Linked DNA regions of Homo sapiens: all the other regions are linked to region 3. Evidence: promoter capture Hi-C in 16 types of primary human blood cells and fetal thymus (Javierre and others, 2016). All regions are on one chromosome and are shown on one strand. Each heading gives the region's core, a stretch centred on a gene start or on the middle of the fragment in contact. The rest is flanking DNA. Distances are from core to core; before and after follow the strand shown. Region 1 holds the start of MZF1 (myeloid zinc finger 1). Region 2 holds the start of ZSCAN22 (zinc finger and SCAN domain containing 22). Region 3 holds the start of ZNF805 (zinc finger protein 805). Region 4 holds the start of ZNF8 (zinc finger protein 8). Region 5 overlaps ZNF8 (zinc finger protein 8). Region 6 holds the start of LOC124904788 (a long non-coding RNA gene).

Region 1 (2,936 bases), core at 270-2,769, 1.3 Mb after region 3:
TGTGTGCCACGACATCCGGCTAATTTCTTAATTTTTCTGTAGGGATGGGATCTTACTATGTTGCCTAGGCTGTTCTTGAACTCCTGGGCTCAAGCAGATGATCCTCTTACCTTGACCTCCCGAAGTGCTGGGACTTACAGGTTTGTTCCACCATGCCAGCCCACAGGCTGTTTTTTAGGACTAGAAGACACTTCTCTCCCCTGTATCCTTCCCTTCTTCTACATGTGCAACCTCATTCCTGCGCTACAGCTCTCTCTTTACCAGGTGGATGGCACCTATACACCTACAGCCTGGGCATCAGCATCACTGCTGGCGTCTCCCCCTACCCAACGCCAGCCCTTACTTCACCTTCTATTCTCTCATCTACTTCGATGTGGCTCCTCATTTGGGCCCCACCATCATTCCCCTCCCTGCTTGGAAGCCTCACTCCACCTAATCCTCCATGTCAACCTGTGCAGTCACTTGTATGGCTCAGCTCCCAGGCAGCACCCTCTCTCCCTACTCAGCCCCATCTTCTAAGCCCAACATCACACTACGCAATGCCCCATCTCAGCTTCCTGATTTAGCTGGGGTTGGAAGGGGATGGGGGAGCTTCGCAATGGGTGGGGGGGCGGCAAAGGCTCCAAGACTGCCGGAACAGGAGCCTGCAAGGAAGTCCCGAGACTCTGATTCCGCCCATCTTCAGATCACTGTGCCTTCGAGAACTTGTTTCCCCATTTGCAAGTGGGGCTGACCTCCCTCCTCGCGCTGTTCCTTCTGCAGCTGCGGCTTTAGGAAGGAATCTGCGTTTATGAAGGGGATGGCACCGCAGAATCATTCCCCCGTGGGTGGCATCGATTTCGAGGGCCGCCTCATCCTGGGGGCCAAGCCTCCACTCTTCAAGGTGCCAAGTCAACCTGAAACCCTGGGAGAGACTTGGGTCATAGCCAAGATGGCAGGTACCTACGGAGGGTCCCGAAATACACTTCCCAGAAGTCCAGGCGGCAACTTCCGCTCCAGGGTGCCAAGGTAGGTCCAGACGACGCCTAGGCAACCGGGGGCGGGGCTCCCAAAGCCTGTCGTCGTGGCAACGAGTAGTGATTGACAAGCCTCTCGCTCTAGCCCTGGGCGCTCCCGCAAGGACTGCCCGGATTCGTTCCCCGCGCTTCCGGTCTCACTGGGGAGCCGGAATCCCCGAGTCTGCAGCCACCGCCCCCGTCCACACGATAGCCCTCCCGGTTAAGAGGACCCCGCCCTCACCTCTGCGCTCAGCGGGCCGCTCCGCGCTCCTGAGCACGCGCAGTCTTCGACTTCCCCCTCCCGCTGGACTACGTCTCCCAGGATGCTCCGCGCACCAGCTCGAGCGCCTCCTTGCCCTTCCCCCACCCTCGTCCCCGTTTCTACACCCTCTCCTCCCTTCCCCTAGCGGTGGTCGCAATGATCAGGTCATACTCCTGGCCGCTTCTTCCCATGCTCCCCGCCTCGAATCCGTGCGTCGGCATGCGCAAGCCTCTCAGGTACAACAGACGGCAGCACCGCCTACCAGATCGCGCATGCCCCCCACCACGTTTTCCTCACTTCTCTACGGGCCTTCCTGAGATTAGCAGGATCCTGCACCAATCACGGCCGTCATTAGAACTCCGTCGGTGCCCCACCGCGTCTCCATGGCAACTCCCTACAGGAAGGGGCCTCTGCTACTTCCTAGACCGCAAAATGGAGAAAGGCTTGGCCCGATGCTTTCCGGCAGATGTAGTCAGCAGGCCCTTCGTGTGTACGTGCGCGCGCGGCGCGATGACGTTCCTCTGTGATCATGGGCGAGGGGCGGGCCCTGAACGTCTCCATGGTAACCTGGGGACACGACTCGACATCGCCTGGGTAACCCGGAGACGCGGCGGGCGTTGAAAATGCAATGGGGCATGTGGGATGAAGAGGTGGGGAAGGGTACTGGGGCAGAGAGATGCCGATCGATAGAAACAGCGAGGAGAGACGGAGAGAGACCAGAGACTCAAGGGCAAAGAGAGACGAAGGACCGGCGGGAGGAAGAGAGAGAGAGACAGAGAGACAGACTCACAGACTGGGAGGACCGGAGACTCGACGCGAGGAGAGACAGTGAAAATAAGTGAACAAACATAGAGACACGGGTCCAAGTTATAAGAGGGCTGAGTGGATCAGAGGGTCAGGGCCGGGCAAACAGGTGTCAGAACAGTTAGCAAGAGAGAGGCAGATCAGAAAGGGATGCAGATGAAAGAGACACAAAGAAGGAAACGCAGAATGGGTTCACAGAGACAAGAAATGCAGATATCCAGACTCAAGAGGTAGACAAGAAGGGAGAGGGACAGAAACAAGAAGGGAGAAAAGGGACAGAAATTAGAGATACAGTAAGATGGATTGACAGTTTTCGAAGACCTAGAGAAAGATGACAGCACGAAGAGAGACAGGGAGAATCCGAGGTAAAACTGTTAGGAAAACTTAGGAGTCCAGATGCTGTCCAGTTATATGCTACCCTGTACAGGTTGATAGGTTGCAAATGCTTTCTGTCCAGTGTATCGCTTTGTAGCTCACTAAGCAGTTTTGTATCCAACTTTGTGCTTTTATTTCAGTGTTTTTCTTTTTCTTTCTTTCTTTTTTTTTTTTTTTTTTTTGACGGAGTCTCGCTGTTGCCAGACTGGAGTGCAGTGGCACGATCTCGGCTCACTGCAACCTCCGTCTCCCAGGTTCAAGCGATTCTCCTGCCTCAGCCTCCCGAGTAGCTGGGACTGCAGGCTGCTCCACCACACCCGGCTGATTTTTGTATTTTTAGTAGAGATGGGGTTTTACCATGTTGGCCAGACTGGTCTTGACCTCCAGACCTCTGGTGATCCGCCCACCTCGGCCTCCCAAATTGCTGGAATTACAGGTGTGAGCCACCGCGGCCGGCCAGTGTTTATTCTTCCTTTCCTGTCTTCCTAGAATCATCT
Region 2 (3,003 bases), core at 166-2,665, 1.1 Mb after region 3:
TGTCTCTTACACATACACACACACACAGAGAAGATACATTCTCACACACAGTCCAGGCATCGACTGAATCACACAATCACACTACCATTCACAGTCACCGTAACAACATCACACACAGTCTAGGGCCTTTATACTGTGTCAGGTCCACCCCATTACCTCTAAGTATCTGTCTCAGACACAATTACACCTGGTGCAGGCAAACACAGCTGCATGATTATCACATATGATGATTAAATCACAGGTCACACACACGCAGAGTAAGCACACAGAACAACCCACAAACCTGGTCACAGAGTGACTCATGCAGACAGACGCCCAGCTCAAATTCAGTAAAAAATGATACACATTTATAAAAATGATTACATGTGTTCACAGAGAGCCACACATAGCTACACTCAATACACACCCTGACATAGGCAACCACACCGCTCACCTCTCACAAAGGCACCTTCAGTACTTACACAGACACTCACACCCACAAGCCCTCAGACAGGCACCCTCTCCCCTCACTCCTAACATGGGCACCCTCACCTCTCACCCAGGTACCCTTGTTACTGGTGGAGGGTGTCCAGGTTCTTGGCATCTTGAACAAATAATTGGACAAAATGCACAAAGAAAAGAATGAAGCAACAAAAGCAGAGATGTATTGAAAATGAAAGTACACTCCACTGTATGGGAGCAGGCCGGAGCATAGGGGCTCAAGAGCCCGGTTACAGAATTTTCTGGGGTTTAAATACCCTCTAGAGGTTTCCATTGGTTACTTGGTATATGCCCTATGTAAATGAAGAGGACGAAGTAAAGTTACAAAGTGATTTACTCCATGTACGCCCTGCATAAATGGAGAGGATATTTCCTACCATAGCTGCAGTTTCCATTTGATTTACTTCTAGGAAGTCCTTAGGTTCCCTGCCTCCAGACCCGATTTTCTTGCCTCACCCTTACCCCTCACCCCTCACACAAACACCCTCAGCCCTCCCAAAGCCACCCTCAGCCTCACACAGCCGCCCTCACCCTCAGCCTCACACAGGCACCCTCAGCTCTCACACAGGCACCCTCAGCCCTCACACAGCCGCCCTCACCCTCAGCCTCACACAGGCACCCTCAGCCTCACACAGGCACCCTCAGCTCTCACACAGGCACCCTCAGCCCTCAGCCCTCACACAGCCGCCCTCACCCTCACCCTCACACAGGCACCCTCAGCCTCACACAGGCACTCTCACCCTCAGCCTTCACATTTCCCTCACCTCCAAGTCCCGCCTTTCGCGCATCGCCTGCTGCTCTCCCACTCAGCGCCACCTCAGTCCCACAAAGGCCGGGCTGGGATCCTGTGGCCTCCGTGCTGACCAACGTCAACTACAATTCCCAGCAGGCACCGCGCCTGGGTACACTTGAGCTTCCGGAGGACGCCGGGAATTGTAGTCCTGGCGGGCGTGGGCCCTTGAGGTGTGCTGGGAGCTGTGGTCCGGGTCGGCGGGCGCGCAAGTTGGCTAGTCTCTGCGGCCACCTCCGGAAGGGTCCGCCGGCTGTGCTGGTGAGGTGGGTTTCGGGGGTGTTCTCCGTCCTGATCCAGGCTGGAGAGGGGCACAGCAGGTCCAGAAGCCGCGAACCTCTGGGGCGGCCAGAGCGAGATGCGGGGTACCGCCCAGCGGGTAGAGAGTGAGAGGCTGACTAGGGGACGTGAGTAGACGGACTGCGAGTGCCGGACACACGCGCAGAGGATGTGACGGACTGACGGACCAGGCGTGGACGGACCGTGTGTGCACGGACTGACGGACCCGGTGTGGACAGACTCACGGACCGAATGTGGTGCGGAATGACACACTGAGTGCCGGACGGACCGACGGAGAATGTGTCGGACTGACGGAGTGTGTGTCGGATGGACTGATTGACCGGGTGTGGGGCGGACGAAGTGTGGAGCGGGCGGACAGATAACAGATAAAATGTAGGACCAGTGGCCTGGGAGGGTGTGGGGCGGACCCGTTTATGTGTCTGATAGGCGGTTCTGTGTCTGACACCTCTTGGGTGTGTGTATCTGACGGGTTGGAGTGTGTGATTCTGATAGGTTGAGTGTAACACTAACCATGGAGTGTGTGACTGACAGAGATGGTTGCCGTTTGAGACTTCCTACGTGGGTTGTGAGATACTGTGAGAGGGTGAGCGTGTGACGGTGGGATTTCAAGTGTGACTGATTTTCTTTGTGTGTCCTTGAGATGGTGACTAAGATTATGAATGACTGTGATCAGAATAATACTGTGTGATGGAAATGCTGCGAGGGCCTGTGTTTATTTTTGAGACGGAGTCTTGCTCTGTTGCCCAGGCTGGAGTGCAGTGGCGCAATCTCGGCTCACTGCAACCTCCATCTCCCGGGTTCAAGCGATTATCCTGCGTCAGCCTCCCGAGTAGCTGGGATTACAGGCACCGGCCACCACACTTGGCTAATTTTTGTATTTTTGGTAGAGACGGGCTTTCACCATGTTGGTTAGGCTGGCCCGGAACTCCTGACCTCAGGTGATCCACCTGCCTAGGCCTCCCAAAGTGCTGGGATTATAGGCATGAGCCACCATGCCTGGCCAGGCCTGTGTTTATTTGACTGATTATAGGTGACATTGAGATATTTCCTGTGTCTGGGTATTTTGAAGGCTGTGGCTGACAGACTGTACCTGAGATAATATGTGTTAATATCTGATTGACTGAGATTTTTATCAGGGAGACTAAAACTTGGGTGATCCACAAACAGTTTACCAAGCATATGAGAGAGGATTTGTGCTTTGCCATGTCTGCAGCTGAAACTGAGTGACTAGTGGTCATTCAGCTGGGCTTATGGATATGTCCCCCAGTGTTTGCTTACGTGTAGCAGGGGGCTATGGTATCCATACATCTACTGCATGTTTACTGTGCACCAGGCCTGTGCTGGACACTTATAATAAATCACCTCACATAATCTCATAGCAACCCTCTGAGGTAGGTACCATTATCAGGCTTGGTATAATCCATGTGTGAGAA
Region 3 (3,080 bases), core at 324-2,823:
ATTGCAGCCTCGACCTCCTGGGCTCAAGAGATCCTCCCATCTCAGCCTCCTGAGTAACTGGAATTACAGGGGTGTGCCACAATGCTCAGCTAATTAAAAATTTTTTTTGAGTAGGCTGGATGCTGTGGCTCATGCCTGTAATCCCAGCACTTTGGGAGGCCAAGGTGAGTGGATCACTTGAGCACAGGAGTTCAAGACCAGCCTGGGCAGCATGGTGAAACTGACTACAAAAACTACAAAACAAAACAAAAAAACCCTCAATTTGCTGGGCGTGGTGGTGCGTGCCTGCAGTCCCAGCTACTTGGGTGGCTGAGGTGGGAGGATCACTTGAACCCTGGAGTTTGAGGCTGCAGTGAGCTGTGATCGCGCCACTGCACTATGGCCTGAGCAACAGAGCGAGACCCTGTCTCAAAAAATATATATATAAATATATATATAAATATATATGTGCATATATATACGTATATATACATATGTATATATACGTATATATGTATATATGTATATATAAATATATGTATATATAAGTAGAGAGAGAGAGAGAGAGAGAGACGGAGTCTCACTCTGTCGCCCAGGCTGGAGTGCAGTGGCGCGATCTCGGCTCACTGCAAGTTCCGCCTCCCGGGTTCACATCATTCTCCTGCCTCAGCCTCCCGAGTAGCTGGGACTACAGGCGCCAGCCACCACGCCCGGCTAATTTTTTGCATTTTTAGTAAAGACGGGGTTTCATCGTGTTAGCCAGGATGGTCTCGATCTCCTGATCTCGTGATCTACCCGCCTCGGCCTCCCAAAGTGCTGGGATTACAGGCGTGAGCCACCGCGCTCTATTTTTTTTCTTTTCTTTTTCTTTTTTTTTTTTTTTTGGTACCAATGAGGTCTCGCTCTGTCGCCCAGACTGTTCTCAAACTCCTGTCCTCAAGCGATCCTCCTGCCACAGACTTCTGGGACCACAGGTGTGCGCCAGCACACTCAGCTTATTTTAAAAAAATTTTTTTTTTTTTTGGTAGTCTCCCTATGTTGCTCAAGCTGGTCTTGAGCTCCTGGGCTCAAGCGATCCGCCCCCCTTGGCCTCCCAATGCGCTGGGATCCCAGGCCTGAGGCATCGCGCCGCCCGACGTCCCCCTTTGGTTACTCTGACTGCCCGCTGATCTGTATAAGAGGATCCGGAGGGGAAATAATGCAAGGTGGAAGTCAGAGTCCGGAGCCTGGTCCAGGGTCTCTGCACTGGCCCTGACCCTGGCAAATGTCCCTGACTCCTGGGGCTCGATTTCCTCCGGCCAAGAATGGACGGTCTCGCGCTTGGTCCCTGGCCTCCGAGTTGTGCCCCCAGGACAGAGGCAGGTCTGAGCCGGGCTGTAGGCCCGCTGCGACTTTTACACCGAGGCCTGCCGGCTCAGGATCTGTCCCCTTTGCAGGTGGTTTGTAGAGAAAAACTACATTAACTACAAGGCATTGCCAGGTGCGACGGCGGGCCCTGGGGCCAATGATGGTCCAGGACAGGGGCGTTTCCTGTGGGTTGCGAAGCTTGGGGCGGGACTTCCGGCATTTGGATGGGACGTAATTTGGGAGCGACGGTTCCGTCCACGCCGGCTCTAGGGAGGGGGCGGTGTTCCGTGGCCGCCTCCCTGGCGGCGCTGGGGAAATGAGCAGGTAGGAGGCCGACAGCGACCTCCGCGTCTCGGAGCGAACCGTGAGCCTCCCCGTAACGAGAGAGTTTGACTGTCAGCCAAGGTCACCGGGCCCGGCGCAGGGAAGGGGTGGGGCTCGGCTGAGCCCGCGAGACCCGCCCTGCTCGCCGCAGCCCCCGCCCCGCTAGGGCCACAGGGTCCCGGTATGGCGATGGCTTTGACGGACCCGGCGCAGGTGAGTGGACAAGGTTTCGGCCTTGCTGCTTTTCTGCTAGTTCGGGGAAGCCTCCTGGGCAGGCCGGAAGCCAAGACAGCCACAGGATTCCTCTTTGTAGTTTTGTTTGTTTACGAAACGTGGAGCAGGCTCGTCACTTAGTTTATCTCCTGTCGTGGTAGTACCTGAGAGACTGAATATTGAAGCGGACAGTAGGCAGACTATACATCGATTATAGGGCTGTGACGTACAATTTTTTTGTAGCAACCTGCCCAGGAAACCAGCCTCCTGTTCTGCAATAAACTACTCTGGAAGCCAGTCTGCCTTAAGTTAGTCTTGCAAGGAGCTAGATTACTCTCTGGTGACATTTCAGGAGGCTAAACGGTAACTCCTGGAACAGTAGGCCCCAAATAGGACTTGATTTGTAACTGACTGTTCTAATTTTTGCCTCCGCCTCCAAAAGAGGACCAAGCAGAGAAAGCCATACGTGCTCAGCCTAACCAATCACATACGATGCCCCACTTCTAGTTAGCCCTTCTGCAGCTTTCCACTGCTAAAGTGTCAGGCCTCTGAAAGCTGCTTAATAATTGCTTGAAGGATGGATGAAGTTCCACTCCAGGGACTCCCGTCACACACATCATCCGAACTCAGCCTTGGCCTGCAAGTCCCTACCCGGTCCACTATGGCTGACCACCTCTGTCCTTGTTTCCTTCCTTTCCTCCCTGGCTCAGCGCTTCAGACACAGGTCCACTATGGCTGACCACCTCTGTCCTTGTTTCCTTCCTTTCCTCCCTGGCTCAGCCCTTCAGACATATCAATCTGATCACGCAGAGTTCTTTCCTACCCCTCAGCCTTCACCTTTACAGTTCATTCAGCCTCAGACACTATCCTCAGATCTCTGCAAGACCCTTTCACATCTTGTTGGCTCTGCTCAAATGTCACTTCTTTAAAGCGGCCTTTCATGGCAGTTCAGACTAAAGTAGTCCCCTTCTCACCTGCCCTTGGTCTAGCGTTTTTGTATAGAGAATCTGGCAAAGTTTTAGACACCTACTGAGTTGAGGTCTTAAAGGATTTTGTGGGGACAAAGAGCATAAATAATAACACAAGAACTGTAACGGTTGGCCTTCATTGAGTCCTTGATGTGAACTGAGAAATGGGCATTATTTATCATCTCATTTAATCCTGATCTCCTTAAAGTGACATTCTATTATAAACACTGCTGTACACAAGAGGAGGTC
Region 4 (3,008 bases), core at 85-2,584, 1.0 Mb after region 3:
CTGACCTCGGCTCACGGCAACCTCCGCCTCCCAGGTTCAAGCGATTCTCCTGCCTCAGCCTCCCGAGAAGCTGGGACTACAGGTGCCCGCCACCACGCCGGGCTAATTTTTGTATTTTTAGTAGAGACGGGGTTTCACCATATTGGCCAGGTTGGTCTCGAGCTCCTGACATCGTGATCCACCCGCCTCGACTTCCCAAAGTGCTGGGATTATAGGCGTTAGCCACCGCGCCCGACCTTTAATAAACATTTTAATGGACTACAACAGACCCACAGAAAAAGACACATCACAAAGTGAACACCCACAGGGAGAAGCAATAGGGCTGTCAGAGGCATTCGACCCAGAGCGACTCCATTTTGAGTGAGGGCTAGGAAAATGAGGCTGGGCTGCATTCCCAGAAAAGTAGGTATTCCTAACCTCTAGATGTTTACGGTTAAGGGAACAAATTAATAATGGGTACTAAAACAGACCCAGACTTGGGAGTGTCCAGATATCCCGGTATCTAGAGAACAAAGGCATTCCTAATTTTGCTTTAAAAATAATATCGATTCTTGAAAAATACAGTAAGAAAATTAATCCTTTTTCACAAACCCTTGTAGCAGAGCACATCTCCCCAAAATCTATTTTTAGCCCAAATATACACAAGCATTGTACCTAGGGTGCATACGTTCCTCTTACTTTCAGGAACGTCCTACTGTCTATGGGGTAGCTGTTTCACAACTTTACTTTCTCAACAAACTTGCTTTTACTTTGCACTGCGGACTCGCCCTGAATTTTTTCTTGCGCGAGATCCAAGAACCCTCCCTTGGGGTCTGAATCGGACCCCTTTCCTGTAACACAACCACCGCTCCCAGCCTCCCCGCTTCCAGCCGCTAAGCCCAAAGTCTTTTATATGAACAAACCTCTAACTCGTCCTGTGACTTTGATGCGTGTGCGTTTTAGGCACCGGGGAGCAGAGGGTAAAGCGGCGCAGCTCCGGGCCTCCTCCCGCGCAAGTTCCCGAGAAGAGCAGGTCCGGCCCGCGCAGACGTGCACGGTCCCCAGCCATTAGGAGGAGCAGACGGTCCCCACCCCCACAATCAGTCATCTCTCGGGGTCCGCCCTTGCTTCCTGCCCACGAGTGAGGCCTCTGGTTGCCCGCAACCTAAGGGGCATCGCAGCCCCGAGCAACACCGCCCCCACCAGCCTTAGCTGAGTGCTCCCATTGGCCAGAGGCCAGCGGGTGGGGGCTCCCATTGGCCATCGGCCATAATGCTTCCATTGGTCGAAGGCCAGACCAGCGGAGACTCCCATTGGCCGAGGGCTGTGGTTCGCCGCACGGCCTACTGGGAGTTGTAGTCGCCGCGTCGCCGGTGCGGCCGCCATTGTCCGGCGTTCGGCGAGTCGGGTGGTCCCTTTGGCTGGAGTGCCTCTCTGGTCTGGGGATCACCTCAGGCGCTGTCCTTCACTGGGCGATCCAGCATGGACCCCGAGGACGAAGGGGTAGCGGGAGTGATGTCTGTGGGGCCGCCGGCGGCCCGGCTTCAGGTAACAATAACAACAATAACGACGGCGGCGGGCTCCGGGCAAGCGTCTCCCGCGCAGACTGACCCTTTCACCTCGCGGCGCGATGAGAGCGGCACCGCTGTTAATGCCCTTGACACGTGGGGAAACTCAGACGCGGGTCGGGGCGTGGTGACCGTCCTGGCTGGTCAGAGAGGGGGCCGGGATTCCAACCAGGCGCCTGGCCCCCGAATGCGCATGCTCCACGCGGCTCTGTCCTCCCCAGGGCTGGGGTCGGTCATTCCCGAGAGAATCGAGCAGGCCCATCTCCTGCGTTCTGCTCCGCCCCGCCGACACCCTTGCCCATTCCAGGAAGGTCTGTCCTCGTGTTGACTGATAACAGTAATTGTAGCGTTGGCCGGGTGCCCAGATGGCAAGAATCATCGAATAGAGATGCTTTAACGCGTGGAGTCAGCGGACACCCACCGGGACCCCAGCACCGCGGAGCCCCTGCCCTGGGGCTTGGGCACAACCTCTTGGGGGCAATGATGGGTCACCACGCACTGAGTGTGATGAGAGTGACCACCAGGGTCGTCCCCTGCGAGACTGTGGGAGAACTGCAGTGCAGGGCGGTCAGTGTTTGCAGGGCCATCTGGCCATCAGAGCTCCACTTTCTAGACAAAGTGGTTGCGGCCTGTGTTCTCCATAAAGCTGCCTCGCGTGGCAGGAAACAACAATAATTATCCTTCCTCAAGCTCTGCAACTTTGAAATTATACTTTTTTTTATTTTTTGTCGTTGGTTTGTTCATGGGGATTTGCATTATTTCAGATTTGGTACACAAAGTGAGACTTGATAATCTTAGGTTGCAGGTTTTCAGATGTGTGTTGCTCCAAATTTGCATGAAATGCTACCACGTTTTATTTTGTTCTTGCTGTGGATGGGGGACAAGGAATGAGTCGTAAGAAAGGCTTGAGAGAAAGTGTATTAGTTACCTGTTGCTGTGTAACTCAAAACTTCGTGACCTGGAACAACAATAAATATCTCACGAGTTCTGACAGGAGTAATGGAATGTCCTAGCTGGTGGTTCTGGTTCAGGCCCATGAAGTTACAGTGAAGATGTCAGCATAGCTGTTGTCACCTGAGACCTGAGTCTGGAGGATCCACCTCCAGGATGGCTCACTCACATGTCTGTTGATAGGAGACCTCAGTTGTTCTCCATGTAGGCCTCTCTTTGGAACTGCTAGGGATCCTTGCAACATGGCATCTGGCTTCCCACAGAACAAGTGATCCAGGAGAGGGCAAGGTAGAAACTGTAACACCTTCCATGACCTGGATTCAGAATTCACACTCTTGTCACTTCCACGGTGTCTTACTGGTTACAAAGTCAACCTTGTTGAGTGTTGGAGGGGACCACACCAGGGCTGGAGGTCATTGGCAGAGGTGGTGGGGGAGCATCTTGGAGACTGTCCATCACAGGAGACAAGGACCAGAATGGAGAGCTTCAAGGTCCAGTGTTTTATCTGGT
Region 5 (2,921 bases), core at 168-2,667, 1.1 Mb after region 3:
TTACCGCTGATGGTGTTTAAAGGAAAAACATTCCCAGAAGCCTGCAGCACATGCCCCCCTTAGTCTCACTGGCCACAGATGGGTCAGGGGGCCACCCCTAATAACAACGGGGCTTAGAAACCTCGTATTTACCTTTCTAACCTCTGTGGTGGAGACAGGTGGGAGAGAAAAGTCCTGGGAAGTGGATGATGGAGGCAGCTAGCCGTAGCTGCTGCTTTTCTCTTCAAGCTCTTGGGAGAATTGCTTGTGCTCCCTATTCCCTTGGTGGATGATGGAGGCAGCTAGCCGTATCTGCTGCTTTTCTCCTTCAAGCTCTTGGGAGAATCGCTTGTGCTCCCTATTCCCTTGGTGGCAGCTCACACCTCAGACCTGCTGTCCGCCCCCACTGCTTCACAGAACCCACTGCAACCACTGTCCAAGGTACTACCTCTGGTGTCGTCTCTCTTCATCCCCAGGACTGTGAAGCCTGCTAACCTCTTTGCAGAGCTCCATCTCCTTGCATTGTGGGGTTCCTTCTAACTCTTCAGGGACTTCTCAACCTCCCGTCACCCTTCCTAAATGCTGGGGTCCTAGAGTCCACCTTGTGCTCCACGCCCTCCCCAGGTGTCATCTACATCCCTAGCTTTGTGCTGCTCACCACCAAATCAGTCTGGTGCTTCTGAGATTTGGGCTTCAGACCCAAACAACTGCTGTGTGCTACTGGGCAACTCCCCGAGGTGTGCCGAAAGCTCCCCAAACCCAGCCTACCCCAAACAAAACTCATTTTCCACCCAGACTAGTCTCTGCTTCCCTGATCCCTTTCCTGGAGGCTGTTTCCACTTGCCATCCCATCATGGAAGCCAGAAAACCAGTCTTCTTGACCTCTCCCCTTCCCCACTCCATGGAGTTAGAGGTCCTGTTGATTTTGCCATGTAAACATTTCGGATTTGCTTACTTCATCCCCACTGCCACCAACAGTGCAGGATGGCCCTAAGAGGAGAAGTAATGTGCTACCAAGTGGCCCAGCCAGAGTGTGAACCAAACAGTCTGGTACCAAAACCCTATTCTGGATCATTCCTCCTTTCTGCTCCACCAGCAGTTTGGGGCACAGGCTTGGGAATCCAGACAGGAAAGCTCCTCCCCTCTGAAGCAGTGGGACCAAAAATGACAGCATGGTTCTAGACAGCTCTGGAAGTCAGGCCTGTGATTGCCTCATTCCCTCCACCTTGGCCCCCAAAATGGCCAGTCCTGAAGGGGTCACAGTTGATACTTCTCTGAGGGGGCATGGGGTTGGCTGAGGTTATAGCAGCCCCACAGGGTGGTAAGCTGGGATGAAGCAATCAACTGGAACTCAACAAGCCTTGAGTTCTCAAAGGGGGTGTGGGAAGGTTCTTATACATCTTCTATGAAGGGCAGTTTATCAGTCACTAAATTACAAATACATAAACCCTTTGTCTCACCAAACCTGCTGGGAATGAATCCTACATATATATTTATATGTGTGCAGGCTACATGGTTTTCATTATGCTATTGATTTTAAAAGTAAAAATTTGGAAAGAACCTCCATGTCCACCATGGGGAACTGGCTAAGTCATTTATGGTGGAATGGTGATCATAAAAATTCATTAAAAATGAAGACTCTATATACAGCTTGAATATTCCTTATCGAAATGCTTGGGACCAGAAGTGTTTCAGATCTTTGCATATTTTCTGTTTCTCATTTCAGTTCACATTTTCTAAGCATGATATTCCTACTGATTTCCTTGTAGATATTTTGAAACAGATAAGAAACTCCTCCGTGGAAATTACTGTTAACTAGGGAAAAGACATGTTTTTTTCTGTTCATAAAAGTAATGCGAGTTCTTTGTAGCAAAACTTGGAAAATGCATAAAAGTAAAAAAAAAATGAAAACTTGTGTAAAATTCCTCATACTTTAGCCATCCATAGATGGTCCTTACCATTAGGATTTTACTAATTTTCCTTGCAGCTTTTTCTTAAAATATACACGTGTGTCTACACATACATAGTGTACACTAAATTTTACATACACACAGAGGAATATATATGTGTATAGTTATCTTGTGTTTAGAAATTTGGAATCCCTTCTAGTTGTCTTGTAACATGTGCTTACTCTATTTTGAGGATTTTCTCTATGAATTTCATGTAGCTCTTTAAATTAACTTTCAGGAGGATTGTAACAATGTGCTCTCCACCCAGTATTTTACCAGCCTTGAGTTTTCTCAAAGGGGGCATTGGAGGGGTTCTTATACATTTACAGTGGGAATGTGAATTGATACAACTTCTGTGGAGGGCAGTTTATCAGCCACTATCTAAATTACACATACATAAACCCTTTGTCTAAGCAAACTTGCTGGGAATAAATCCTACACATATATTTGTATGTGTGCAGACTGTTTGTACATGGTTTTCATTATGCTATTGATTTTAAAAGTCAGAATTTGGAAACAACCCTCCATGTCCACCATGGGGAACTGGCTAAGTCATTTATGGTGGAATGGAGATCATAGCCTTAAAAATGAAGACTCTTTATATACAGGTTGAGTATCCCTTATCCAAAATGCTCAGGACCAGAAGTGTTTCAGATTTCAGATTTTTGAATTAGGGATCCTCAAACTATACTAATGTGAGAAAGAGCTCTAAGATAGTTAAGTAGATAAAAGCAAGGTGTCAAACTGTAGAGTATGTTTCCATTTATGTAAAGAAGAAACAGGCTAGGCAAGGTGACTCACGCCTGTAATCCCAGCACTTTGGGAGGCCGAGGCGGGTGGATCACCTGAGGTCCGGAGTTCAAGACCAGCCTGACCAACACGGTGAAACCCCATCTCTACTAAAAATACAAAAGCTGGGTGTGGTGGTGCACACTTCTAATCCCAGCTACTCCGTAGGCTAAGGCAGGAGAATCGCTTGAACCCAGGAAGTGG
Region 6 (3,060 bases), core at 319-2,818, 1.1 Mb after region 3:
CCCGCGATGCCACGCCAGGCAGGAGTTCCTGCTGCAGTCCCCGCCACGCGCTGGGCTCCTACAGGGGCCCTCCCGGGCTTGCAGCCCCTCGGGGATAACCAGCTCAGGGTTCTGAGAAGAGGTGGGGCCGCACGGCTCCCGCACGAGGGGTCTGGTCCCGGCGCTGTGCCGGGTCCCCGGGCCGGGGCTCACCCCGAGGCTGCAGCCCCGGGAGCCCCCGCCTGGGGGAGTCGTCCTACCGCCCGCCGCTCCACGCAGGTCCCCCTTTTGAGTGGGGCGGCTCCCAGCTCGGTCCTCTTCGAGGGGCCTCGGCTCCTCGGGCCTCTTCTCCCGGGCCCCGGAGGCACCCTGGGCATCGGCCTTGGGGAGTCCTCCCTGCCCAGCCTTCTGGGCTGGAGCCTCCATCCTGGGGCGCAGAGTTCTGGTTGTAGGATCTGGAAGAGCAGAGAAGAAATGGAGGTTGGCGGTTCCCAGGAGGAGAGAAGTGGAGAACTGGGCCAACGAGCGACCACCCCACAGCTGGCACCTACTGGGCGGCCCCCAGCTCTCTGCAGATGCGAAAGGGTAAATGGAGTGACATAGGCAGCCCGTCCTGCCCCTCTTCAAATTGTCACCACCCAGACCCCAGAGAACAGCTTCCCAGGCTCTGCCTGCCCGCCATCACCGTTCCTCCCCAACACTAGCTCCTAAAACACTGTGCCCCTGGCTAAGGCCCTCCCTGGTCCCCCTTCCCCAAGCAACAGGGACTCCCCCGTTGCTCAGCTGCCAGCTCCCCAAAATCTCACTTACTCCTGCCCTCCGTTTCTCAGTGGCAAGCCGACACTCCGGGTCCTCCTGGCTCCATTCACTGCCATTGTCCATGTCTTCTGAGAGGTGTGAGGTGAGACTCACCTGACAGCTGAGAGCCTGGCCGGGAGATCCACGCTGCAGAGGCCAATGCTGGACTTCCCCTCCCCTCTTCAACCAGGTAACGGTGGTGCTCTCAAGGCTGGCAGCCTCATCTACAAAATGGGTATGATAACGGTAAGTATAACCAGCTGAGTAGGGAGACAGGCAGCCCAGATCATTCAAGCAAGTGTGAACATTAGCAACGCCTGGCGCCTGCTATTACTATTTTAAAATTACACTGTGGCTGTATTAGTTATCTATTGTTAAAGCTGCTTTAACAAACTGCCACCCCATAGTGGCTTGAGACAGTGCAAACTTGTTATCTCAGAGTTCTGGAGGTCGTAAGTCCTAAGTGAAGGTTTCAGTAGTGTGGGTTCCTTCCAGAAGCTCTTGGGGAGGACGTTTGCTGACCATTTCCAGCTTCTAGGTGCCACCTACTTTTCTTTCTTCCATCTTCAAGCCAGCAGTAAGACATGTTCATCTCTCTCTTTCTGGGTTTGTTGTCAAATCTCCTTATACTCCTTATAGGATTCTGACCCTTCTGCCTCTTGTGATCACACTAGGCCAACCACACATAATCCAGGAATCTCCCCATCTCAAGATCCAAAACTTCATCACACTCAGTTCTTTTGCCTTGTGAAGTAACATAGTCAGAGGTTCTAGGAAACAGGACGTGCAGATCTTTCAGGGGGCCATTATTCTGCTTACAACAGTGGACTTTGCTGAGATACACACACGTGCATATATAAATATTCATCTCCTAAGCAAGCAATTGAATAGCAAGTGAAAACAAAGGACGGCCGGGCACGGTAGCTCACGCCTGTAATCCCAGCACTTTGGGAGGCCGAGGCAGATGGATCACCTGAGGTCAGGAGTTTGAGACCAGCCTGACCAACATAGAGAAACCCCGTCTCTACTAAAAATACAAAATTAGCCAGGCATGGTGGTGCGTGCCTGTAATCCCAGCTACTCAGGAGGCTAAAGCAAGAGAATCACTTGAACCCGGGAGATGGAGGTTGCAGTTAGCCGAGATCGCACCATTGCACTCCAGCCTGGGCAACAAAAGTGAAACTCTTTCAAAAAAAGAAAAGGAAAAAAAGAAAAGAGAGAGAGAGGGAGGGAGGGGTGAAGGCCGGGGGGGGGGAGCCGGGCGCGGTGGCTCACGCCTGTAATCCCAGCACTTTGGGAGGCCTAGGTGGGCAGATCACGAGGTCAGGAGATCGATACCATCCTGGCTAACACGGTGAAACCCCGTCTCTACTAAAAATACAAAAAATTAGCTGGGCGTGGTGGCGGGCGCCTGTAGTCCCAGCTACTCGGGAGGCTGCGGCAGGAGACTGGTGTGAACCCGGGAGGCGGAGCTTGCAGTGAGCCGAGATCACGCCACTGCACTCCAGCCTGGGCGACAGAACGAGACTCTGTCTCAAAAAAAAAAAAAAAAAAATTGCCGGGCATGGTGATGCATGCCTGTAGTCCCAGCTACTCAGGAGGCTAAGGCAGGAGAATCACTTGAACCTGTGAGGTGGAGGATGCAGTAAGCTGGGATTGGGCCACTGCCCTCCAGCCTGGGCGACAGAGCGAGACTCCGTCTCAAAAATAAATAAATAAATAAATATTTTCCTCATTGTGATGTGATGTGAGGTTTCTCAGCCTCACACGTGATAAGTGCACAATCCTCCTGTCCCCTCCCTAGATCTCATTGTTTCCAGAACAAAGATGGATCTGTCCAGCACAGCCTTTAGACTCTGAATCCCGGATGGCTAACATCATATGCAGAGCGTGAGATGGACACACTTGTGGCACCCTCGTAAATCACTGCTTCACTCGGCACAGGAGCTCAGATTCTTCTCCTTTTGTCCTGTGTTCCCTATTCTGTGCAAGGCAGATATCCTCTTATTTTATTTTATTTATTTTGGTGTTTTTTGAGACAGAGGCTCTCTCTGTCACCCAGGCTGCAGTGCAGTGGCGCCATCTCAGCTCACTGCAACCTCCGCCTGCTGGGTTCAAGCAATTCTCCTGCCTCAGCCTCCTGAGTAGCTGGGATTACAGGTGCCTGCCACCATGTCTGGCTAATTTTTTGTATTTTTAGTAGAGATGGGGTTTCACCATGCTGGCCAGGCTGGTCTTGAACTCCTGACCTTGTGATCTGCCCACCTCGGCCTCCCAAAGCGC

Evidence for each region. The method cuts DNA at HindIII sites, captures the fragments that hold promoters and counts their contacts. A CHiCAGO score of 5 or more calls a contact.
Region 1: the fragment with the promoter of MZF1 here is called in contact with the fragment with the promoter of ZNF805 in region 3 in 1 of 17 cell types (neutrophils); the score reaches 5.4 in neutrophils.
Region 2: the fragment with the promoter of ZSCAN22 here is called in contact with the fragment with the promoter of ZNF805 in region 3 in 3 of 17 cell types (neutrophils, non-activated CD4 T cells and total CD8 T cells); the score reaches 6.4 in neutrophils.
Region 4: the fragment with the promoter of ZNF8 here is called in contact with the fragment with the promoter of ZNF805 in region 3 in 1 of 17 cell types (neutrophils); the score reaches 7.2 in neutrophils.
Region 5: a fragment that was not itself captured here is called in contact with the fragment with the promoter of ZNF805 in region 3 in 1 of 17 cell types (neutrophils); the score reaches 9.8 in neutrophils.
Region 6: a fragment that was not itself captured here is called in contact with the fragment with the promoter of ZNF805 in region 3 in 1 of 17 cell types (neutrophils); the score reaches 5.3 in neutrophils.

Annotation. Positions count from the first base shown.
Region 1 is chr19:58,571,816-58,574,751 of GRCh38, forward strand. MZF1 (myeloid zinc finger 1) reads right to left here and starts at 1,520. Exons shown (of 6, transcript NM_198055.2): 1 at 1,240-1,520. It overlaps MZF1-AS1 (MZF1 antisense RNA 1), which reads left to right. Exons shown (of 6, transcript NR_027334.2): 4 at 43-140; 5 at 763-1,008; 6 at 1,102-2,936. RefSeq lists enhancers at 225-1,086, 1,087-1,946, 1,315-1,404, 1,465-1,894. The HindIII fragment of the contact is 12,442 bases long and covers 1-2,936 here.
Region 2 is chr19:58,325,579-58,328,581 of GRCh38, forward strand. ZSCAN22 (zinc finger and SCAN domain containing 22) reads left to right here and starts at 1,416. Exons shown (of 3, transcript NM_181846.3): 1 at 1,416-1,536. LOC105372480 (a long non-coding RNA gene) reads right to left here and starts at 1,670. Exons shown (of 3, transcript NR_144444.1): 1 at 1,245-1,670. RefSeq lists enhancers at 1,301-2,043, 1,387-1,716. The HindIII fragment of the contact is 13,061 bases long and covers 1-3,003 here.
Region 3 is chr19:57,239,059-57,242,138 of GRCh38, forward strand. It overlaps ZNF805 (zinc finger protein 805), which reads left to right and starts at 1,574. Exons shown (of 4, transcript NM_001023563.4): 1 at 1,574-1,863. The coding sequence starts at 1,834. RefSeq lists enhancers at 1,172-1,391, 1,412-1,681 and a silencer at 1,802-1,871. The HindIII fragment of the contact is 2,977 bases long and covers 1,523-3,080 here.
Region 4 is chr19:58,277,621-58,280,628 of GRCh38, forward strand. ZNF8 (zinc finger protein 8) reads left to right here and starts at 1,335. Exons shown (of 4, transcript NM_021089.3): 1 at 1,335-1,527. The coding sequence starts at 1,462. It overlaps ZNF8-DT (ZNF8 divergent transcript), which reads right to left and starts at 1,122. Exons shown (of 3, transcript NR_187495.1): 1 at 903-1,122. It overlaps ZNF8-ERVK3-1 (ZNF8-ERVK3-1 readthrough (NMD candidate)), which reads left to right and starts at 1,346. Exons shown (of 7, transcript NR_144447.1): 1 at 1,346-2,989. RefSeq lists enhancers at 1,411-1,460, 1,881-1,930. The HindIII fragment of the contact is 22,069 bases long and covers 1-3,008 here.
Region 5 is chr19:58,300,418-58,303,338 of GRCh38, forward strand. ZNF8 (zinc finger protein 8) reads left to right here. Exons shown (of 4, transcript NM_021089.3): 4 at 1-2,374. All of the region lies in intron 4 of ZNF8-ERVK3-1 (ZNF8-ERVK3-1 readthrough (NMD candidate)), which reads left to right. Among named protein-coding and RNA genes, the nearest start is that of ERVK3-1, 3.5 kb to the right of the region's middle. The HindIII fragment of the contact is 9,060 bases long and covers 1-2,921 here.
Region 6 is chr19:58,368,928-58,371,987 of GRCh38, forward strand. It overlaps ZNF837 (zinc finger protein 837), which reads right to left. Exons shown (of 3, transcript NM_138466.2): 2 at 892-1,001; 3 at 1-434. The coding sequence starts at 405. LOC124904788 (a long non-coding RNA gene) reads left to right here and starts at 880. Exons shown (of 2, transcript XR_007067364.1): 1 at 880-967. The HindIII fragment of the contact is 6,674 bases long and covers 1-3,060 here.